Linked DNA regions of Homo sapiens: region 1 is linked to region 2. The links are contacts of gene promoters, found by promoter capture Hi-C in blood cells and fetal thymus (Javierre and others, 2016). All regions are on one chromosome and are shown on one strand. Each heading gives the region's core, a stretch centred on a gene start or on the middle of the fragment in contact. The rest is flanking DNA. Distances are from core to core; before and after follow the strand shown. Region 1 overlaps UBE2T (ubiquitin conjugating enzyme E2 T). Region 2 holds the start of LGR6 (leucine rich repeat containing G protein-coupled receptor 6).

Region 1 (4,477 bases), core at 1,311-3,810, 140 kb after region 2:
CATCTCAGCTCACTGCAATTTCCACCTTCTGGGTTTGAGCAATTCTCATGCCTCAGCCTCCAGAGTAGCTGGGATTACAGGCGTGCACCACCATGCCCAGCTCATTTTAGTATTTTTAGTAGAGACAGGGTTTCGCCATGTTGGCCAGGCTGGTCTCAAATGCCTGACCTCAGGTGATCCGCCTGCCTTGGCCTCCCAAAGTGCTGGGATTACAGGCGTGAGCCAATGCACCCAGCTTTTTTTTTTTTTTTTTTTTTTTTTTTTAGAGGCAGGGTCTTGCTCTGTCACCCAGGCTGGAGTGCAGTGGCACAATCTCAGCTCACTGCAATCTCCACCTGCTGGGCTTAAGTGATCCTCCCATCTCAGCCGCCTATGTAGCTGGAAGTACAGGTGTGTGCCACCACGCCAGTCCAAGATTCCTCTTATTAATCTCTATTCTGACAAGGGAATCTGAGTTTTTCCACTCCCTTCTTGTGAACGTTTATCTATACAAGCAAATATATTTTTAAAATAAAGAACTAAAAATGCAAAAAGTTCTACAAAAAATAAAAACACTAAAGGTTTTAAATAATGGGTGTTTCCACTGATAAATTATAAACTCATGAGGCCAGGCCTGGGTCTGATTTTGCTTACTATTGTAGCCTTAGCATGCCTGTCATAGTAAGGGATTTGACAAATATTTGCTGTTGTGAGGAAGTCTACATATGCTTTGTGAGAGCAAGAATGGTAGAGATAGTCAACATTCTCAGGTACAAACAAATGTTAAATGTCCGAGTTTCTCTCCATGTGCTATGGATTCCACCTTCTCCCAATCTTCAGGGATACCATTCCATCAATTATTCCATCTTTCTTACCCTCAATGTTCAAATATGCTCAAAGTCTCTCTCACCTAAAACCAACACCTACACACATATTCACCCAACACTCTTCTCAACTCTAGTTCTCTCTTTACTAACCAAGCAAAGGACACTAATCCCTTTTGTTTTTTAGACGGAGTCTCGGTCTGTTGCCCAGGCTGGAGTGCAGTGGTGCGATCTCGGCTCACTGCAACCTCAGCCTTCCGGGTTCAAGCAATTCTCTGCCTCAGCCTCCCGAGCAGCTGGCATTACAGACGCCCGCCACCACGCCCGGCTACTTTTTGTATTTTTAGTAGAGATGGGGTTTCACCATCTTGGCCAGGCTGGTCTTGAACTCCTGACCTCGTGATCCACCCACCTCAGCCTCCCAAAGTGCTAGGATTACAGGCGTGAGCCACCGCGCCCAGCCAACACCAATCCTTTAATGTGTTACAAATATCCCCCAGTTTGTGCTTATCTTTCCATGTTGTACATGGTGTCTTTCAATAAACACATACTCTTAACATAATCAATCTTAAAATCTCTTTCTTTACATTTATACTTTGTGTATTAAATTTTTCCTTACCCCCAAATGTAGAGATATTCCTACATAGCCTTCAAATATTTTATAATTTTGCTATTCAAATTTAAATATTGAATCCACTAGGAATTGAATTTTATGTATAGTGAGTGAGGTGGGGGTCCAATTTAAAGTTTTTCCCCATATGAATAGTCAATTGTTCTAACATCATTTACTGAATCAGTCCATCCTTTCCCTGCTGATATTACTATAAATTAAATTTCTATATGTGTGGATTTGTTTTGGGACTCTTGAATTTGTTCCACTGGTCAAGTGGATTATTTCTGAGACAATACTCCACTGTTTGAATTACTATAGCTTATTCATTTTTTATTATTTAAATTTTTTCCCAGCTTTACTGAGGTATAACTGGCAAATACAAATTGTATATATTTAAGGTGTACAATGTGATGTTTTACTATAGCTTATCCACCTGGTCTTTTTCTTCAGGAATGACTTGATTATTCTTGACTCTTTGCTCTTCCATATAAATTTGAGAATCAGTTCATAAGTCCATAAATATATACATAAATATGTATATCTGAAATTATAATCCAAATCATAACAGGGTTCTGTGGTTTGGATTGTAATTTTATTGATGCTATAGATCAATTTGGAGATAACTGATATCTTTATGATATTGAATCCTAAGATCCATGAACACGCTGTTTCAGTCTTTTTTTTGATGCTTTCCAAAGGTTTTATAATTTTCTCTATAAAGCTTTATCTAATTTTTGTTAGACTGATTTCTAAGTATTTATATTTTTGCTATCTTTTCAAAAACACTATTTTCTACCCATTTCTTACTGATACATGTAAATCTAATTGATTTTTTTTTATTTTTTTGAGATGGAGTTTTGCTCTTGTTGCCCAGGCTGGAGTGCAATGGTGTGCTCTTGGCTCACCGCAATCTCCACCTCCTGGGTTCAAGCGATTCTCCTGTCTCAGCCTCCTGAGTAGCTGGCGTTACAGGCATGCACCATTAGGCCCAGGTAATATTGTATTTTTTTAGTAAAGACAGGGTTTCTCCATGTTAGTGAGGCTGGTCTCGAACCACGGACCTCAGGTAATCCACCCATCTCAGCCTCTCAAAGTGCTGGGATTACAGGCATGAGCCACCTCGCCCAGCCAATCTAACTGATTTTTAACCAAAGCCTTAGTAATGCTAATGATGAATCTATTTGGGGTGGGGAGCAGTCTGGGAATGGTAATTCCACACTGCCAATCATGTCATCCACATATAATCAAGTTTATTTCTTCCCTTCTAATTCTTTTCCTGCCTTCTATTCTGACAGTAACTTCTAGTACAATGTTAAATGAAAAAGCTGATAGCTGGGCCAAGCATGCTGGCATGAGCCTGTAATCCCAGCTACTCAGGAGGCTAAGGTGGGAGGATGACCTGAGCCCGGGGAGACTGAGGCTGTAGTGAGCCATGATTGTGCCACTGCACTCCAGCCTGGGAGGCAGAGTGAGACCCTGTCTAAACAACAGCCAAAAAAAAAAAAGAAAAAAGAAAGAAAGAAAAGCTGATAGTTGGCATTCTTGTCAGATTTCTAACCTTAAAGGGAAAGCTTTTAACACTATGCTAATCAGTAAGACTGGCCTATAACTGTCCTTTCTAATTTTGTCTTTATTAGCTATCAAGGTTATGCTAGCCTCCTAAAATGAGTTAGGGAGTATTGCCTCCTTTTTTTTTTTTTTTTTTTTTTTAACATATTGTGGATTAGTCCAAGAGATAATTTGTTACTAGGTTGTCTGGAATAACTCCATCTGATCCTGGTGTTTTCATTTTGAGAAAATTTTAACCTACAAATCCAATTTACTTGAATCTTATTCAAGTTATTTATTCTTGCATCAATTTTGGCAAGTTAAATTTTTCCACAAATTTATCTATTACATGCAATTTTCAATTTATTTGTATAATGTTTTATCTTTTTAATCTGTAGTTATCTATGGTTATGTTTCCATTTTCATTTCTAACACTGTTTATCTGTGCCATCTTTTCTTTGATCAGTCTTGCTGGGCATGTATCAACCAAAAGGAAGTTCAAGTTTTGGTTCCACTGGAAAGAATAAAAATTTATGACAAAAATAGAAAATGAGAAAAAATACTTTTTTCTTAAAAATAAAGATTTTTTGCTGGAAGTGTTTTGTACTTCAAGATCACGCCACTGCACCCCAGCCTGGGCGATAGATTAGGACTCTGTCTCAAAAAAAAAAAAAAAAAAAAAAACATCTTCGTCCAAACACGTACTATACATTTTTTCTTGTCATTATTCCCTAAACAATACAGTGTAACAACAATTTACTTAGCATTTTATTAGGTATTATAAGTAATCAAGAAATAATTCAAAGTATATGGGGGTGGGGCTGGGCACGGTGGCTCACACCTGTAATTGCAGCACTTTGGGAGATCAAGGCAGAAGGATCACTTGAGGCCAGGGGTTCAAGACCAGCCTGTGCAACAAAGGAGAACCCCATCTCTAAAATAAATAAAGTATATGGGAGGACATGCAGAGGTTCAAGACCAGCTTGTGAGGCCTGGCACAGTGGCTCACGCCTGTAATCCCAGCACTTTGGGAGGCTGAGGCAGGTGGATCACTTGAGATCGGGAGTTCCAGACCAGCCTGGCCAACATGGGGAAATCCCCTCTCTACTAAAAATATAAAAATTAGCCAGCTGCGGGGGTGGAGGCCTGTAATCCCAGCTACTCAGGAGGCTGAGGCAGGAGAAAGGCTTGAACTCAGAAGGTGGAGGTTACAGTGGGCTGAGATCGCGCCACTGTACTCCAGCCTGGGCGACAGAGCAAGACTCTGTCTCAAAAACAAAACAAAACAAAACTGGCCAGGCATGGTGGCTCACACCTGTAATCCCAGCACTTTGGTAGGCCAAGGTGGGTGGGTCATTTGAGGTCAGGAGTTTGAGACCAGCCTGGCCAACATGAGGAAACCCCATCTCTATTAAAAATACAAAAATTAGCAAAGTGTGGTGGTGCACGCCTGTAATCCCAGCTACTTGGAAGGCTGAGGCAGGAGAATGGCTTCAACCAGGAAGGCGGAGGT
Region 2 (4,187 bases), core at 913-3,412:
CTCCCTCCCGGACGGGGTGGCTGCCGGGCGGAGACGCTCCTCACTTCCCAGACGGGGTGGCTGCCGGGCGGAGGGGCTCCTCACTTCTCAGACGGGGCGGCTGCTGGGCGGAGGGGCTCCTCACTTCTCAGACAGGGCGGTTGCCAGGCAGAGGGTCTCCTCACTTCTCAGACGGGGCGGCCGGGGAGAGACGCTCTTCACATCCCGGACGGGGCGACAGGGCAGAGGCGCTCCCCACATCTCAGACGATGGGCAGCCGGGCAGAGACGCTCCTCACTTCCTAGATGGGATGGCGGCCGGGAAGAGGTGCTCCTCACTTCCTAGATGGGATGGCGGCTGGGCAGAGACGCTCCTCACTTTCCAGACTGGGCAGCCAGGCAGAGGGGCTCCTCACATCCCAGACGATGGGCGGCCAGGCAGAGACGCTCCTCACTTCCCAGACGGGGTGGCGGCCGGGCAGAGGCTGCAATCTCGGCACTTTGGGAGGCCAAGGCAGGCTGCTGGGAGGTGGATGTTGTAGCGAGCCGAGATCACGCCACTGCACTCCAGCCTGGGCACCATTGAGCACTGAGTGAAGGAGACTCCGTCTGCAATCCCGGCACCTCGGGAGGCCGAGGCTGGCGGATCACTCGCAGTTAGGAGCTGGAGACCAGCCTGGCCAACACAGCGAAACCCCGTCTCCACCCAAAAAATACGAAAACCAGTCAGGCGTGGCGGCATGCGCCTGCAATTGCAGGCACTCGGCAGGCTGAGGCAGGAGAATCAGGCAGGGAGGTTGCAGTGAGCCGAGATGGCAGCAGTACAGTCCAGCTTCGGCTCGGCATCAGAGGGAGACCGTGGAAAGAGGGGAGAGGGAGAGGGAGAGCGAGAGCGGAGGCTCGTCTTCTACTTTCAGCGCCATGGCACCAACTGGAGGCCTAGGGTCAAGGTCTGCTCATTTCTTGGTCCAGCTATGCAGCCCCTCTAGCCCTGGGAGGTTATTGGGAGAGTGGAGAGGTGTTGATGAGAGGATCCTGGCATGTGGAAAGACAGGGTGGAAGAAATCCTGGATGCCTCTGAGGTCCCAGGTTTCTAGTATACCCTCTGGCTGGACCATGGGGAGATAGGGCAAAAAAAGGAAGGAGGGGGGCCCACAGCCTGCTCTAGCTCTGCGCGGGGGCTTGGCTCAGCATGGGAGAGACCAGAGAGAGCAAGAGGCTGCATGAAGGAAGCACAGCCAGCTCACTATGGTCTAAGGAGAGAACAGGGATTGACCTCAGTTTTAACCACCATGCCCTTTGCTCTCCAGGGCTCTGGGGCCGGCCCAGGTCAGCCACTTGGTGGGATTCCAGCCTCAGGGTGGCTGAGCTGCAGGTGCAGCACCCGGCCTCCAGGTGGCACCAATCCGCTTACTTTGAGGTGGGCTCTGACAACCAGCTGAGCTGCCCACAGTCCCTCAGACTCCCGAGGTCCTGGGAGCAGGGATCAAGGTGGTCCCCAGGCCGTAAACCTGACAGAGGCTGCAGGAGTGCATTTCCACCCAGGGTGCACTCAGCGGGTGTAACTCCACACCCGTTTCTTTGGAGTCAAGGCCCGGCCTCTCAGTGAGGAGACTGCTCCTGGTTGCCCACCGTCGGGTCATCCCAGCCTGCAGTGGAACCCTCCGCAGCCTGGCCTCTTCCAGGGTAGCCCCTCACTCCCCTCTCTCCTGTCCTAGCAGACAGGCCAGGGAGGGTGGACGAGTTCCAGCTCTGGGGATGTCCCATCAGCTGTGTCACCTTGAACAAATCATTTTGCCTCTTGGGTCTCAGTTTCCTGCAGTGTGAAACGTGGTGGAGGCATGAGGGGCAATGGGAGCCCCAAGGCCTCTTTCAGAGACCTCCTCTGGGTCCCATGTGACCTCGTGGCTGTCCCCAAAGGCAAGAGGGTCCCCAGCCCTGCGGCCAAGGCCCTGGGACACCCTATCCAAACAAATGCAGGTCTCTGACGGGCTGAGCTTTGCTCGCTTGGGTTTCTTTGCTTTCTTCCTTTTTTTTTTTTCTTTCCTGGATGAAATTCCTGCCAGCTCCGAAGGAAGGAGGGAAGAGGAGCGAGCCGCAGTGTAGAAAGTTTCCTTGACTCCTCCTCCGGCTGGGTCTCCCTCCCTTGCCAAGCCCAGCCTGTGAAACTGAATAACGAAGATCACTCAACAATGCCTGCCCCTCTCTGACTGCACCGTCCCGGCGCTCCCACCGCCGCCGCCGCCGCCCAATAGAGCCCCTGGGGCGGTCCCCACCGACGGTGCAGCCCGCCGGGACCGGGAGGAAGCAGCTGCGGCCATCGCGCCGTGCGTCCGCGCCCGGCCGCCAGGTGCCCCAGTAGCCCGACCGCCGAGATGCCCAGCCCGCCGGGGCTCCGGGCGCTATGGCTTTGCGCCGCGCTGTGCGCTTCCCGGAGGGCCGGCGGCGCCCCCCAGCCCGGCCCGGGGCCCACCGCCTGCCCGGCCCCCTGCCACTGCCAGGAGGACGGCATCATGCTGTCTGCCGACTGCTCTGAGCTCGGGCTGTCCGCCGTTCCGGGGGACCTGGACCCCCTGACGGCTTACCTGTGAGTACTGCCCGCCTGTCCCCGCCTGGTCCTGCGGGCTGCTGGCTAGCGCCCAGTCCCGGCCTCAGCAGGGCACCTGCTTGCTTGGTGCCCTGGGGCATGGGCATCCCGGAGAGGGTTTGCCCCCTTCCAAGTTGACCGTTGCGGGACTGGGGAGGGGAGAAGAGTCTGAGACTAAATACCAGGCGAGCAGGGAGACCGGGCTTCCCTGACTTGGCTTCCCCATTGGCCTCCGTGCTTGTGGGCTGACTATGGGAGCCCAGGCTTGGCGAGGTGGGTTCTGGACCCTGAGCGGGAGGGCGCGGGGCTGGCTGCTCCATCTCCTGTTGCTGCATTCTCTTCTAGCAGAGCAGTGCCCGGGATGGTGGCTGAGGGTAAAGCTGACAGAACTGGAGGTGGAGGTGAGGGGAGCGTGCCCCAGTAGGGTGGAAATAATGTCTGTTCTTCTGCCATGGTGAGGACAACAGGGCTGTCACACTGAGGCTGGGTGGCCTTCGTGGGGGCGGGGGGGGCGGGTTTCCTAGAAGCTGGGAGGGGGGCCTTATCCACTCTTGTCTCCTCAGAAAGGGACTCTGCCAGCACCATCTCCCTTCACTGGGGCCTCCTGGCTCCCCCAGGGGCCTCCCTAAAGTCATGTCCCAAGAGGCTGTGTTGGAGACACTAATTTGTGGGCAGGCGCCGAGGCTGAAAACCAGAGAACCATTTTTAGCGTCTGAGTTGGGGTGAGATGGCGCGTGAAGGGGACCCTACTGGGGGCAGCTGTCCTGTCTGTCTGGCTCATGGGAGCTTCCCCTCAGAGCTGGAGGGCTGGGGGCTCTGGCTGCTCACCACCTGGGCAGGAGGAGGGTGAGAGAGCACATTCCAGGCCACCCACCTGCACCCCCAGCCCCGCTCTGGGGCAAGGAAACCTCCTCCAGCCCAGCTCTGCAGGCTCTATCAACTTCCTCAGAGGAGCTGGGAGCAGGTGGGAAAGCCTGGTGGGGCCTTCTGCTGAGGGCTAGGATCCCAGAGTTCCTTCTGGCCTGAGAGAGGCTCCTTATGGCTTTGGGGTTCCAGCACATGGGAGCTTAGAGGAAGAGGAGGCTGGGTGAATCTTTATAGGGGCCTAGCAAGAATTTGTGGAACTAAAGATGCTCAGTGTTGGGAGTGTCCTGGTGGGAGGTAGAGGGTCCCAGAGGGCAACTCTTCATGGGGCTCCTCTCCAAATGTCCCTGTCCCCAGGTTGGGATGTCCCCCTCCACTCCAAAAGGCACAGGCTGTGGGCCAGGTAAGGGAGTGGGAAGAGAAAAATAATGTCCATCTAGAAGGACAAATGGAATCCTTCACAGTGCAGTAGGTGACGGCAGAGGCAATCATGGGAATAAAGGTACCAACTGCACAGAGCCTGGGCGCTCAGCATCTGGCAAAGCAGGGCAGGCTCCGGCCCCACCCTACACACAGGCCAGCCCCTCTTTCAGCAGTTTTCTATCCTGGGAGTATGTGACATTGGTTCATTTGAAGACAGGGTCCTGTGGCTAAAGAGTTTAGATGTGACTTCTGTGGAGCCTTTCTCTGGGTGAGCTGAAGGAAGGTCCCTTGCCTGGGTTGAAGGGGCAGGGGAGATAAGGCCTTCCAGAGCTTCC

What was found. The method cuts DNA at HindIII sites, captures the fragments that hold promoters and counts their contacts. A CHiCAGO score of 5 or more calls a contact.
Region 1: a contact is called between a fragment that was not itself captured here and the fragment with the promoter of LGR6 in region 2, in 4 of 17 cell types (megakaryocytes, total CD8 T cells, endothelial precursors and 1 more). The highest score is 8.0, in megakaryocytes.

The regions. Positions count from the first base shown.
Region 1 is chr1:202,335,975-202,340,451 of GRCh38, forward strand. The region is part of intron 1 of UBE2T (ubiquitin conjugating enzyme E2 T); the gene reads right to left. Among named protein-coding and RNA genes, the nearest start is that of UBE2T, 3.7 kb to the right of the region's middle. RefSeq lists enhancers at 567-1,091, 1,092-1,615. The HindIII fragment of the contact is 850 bases long and covers 2,136-2,985 here.
Region 2 is chr1:202,191,637-202,195,823 of GRCh38, forward strand. LGR6 (leucine rich repeat containing G protein-coupled receptor 6) reads left to right here and starts at 2,163. Exons shown (of 18, transcript NM_001017403.2): 1 at 2,163-2,565. The coding sequence starts at 2,354. RefSeq lists enhancers at 749-1,552, 1,247-1,296. The HindIII fragment of the contact is 23,199 bases long and covers 1-4,187 here.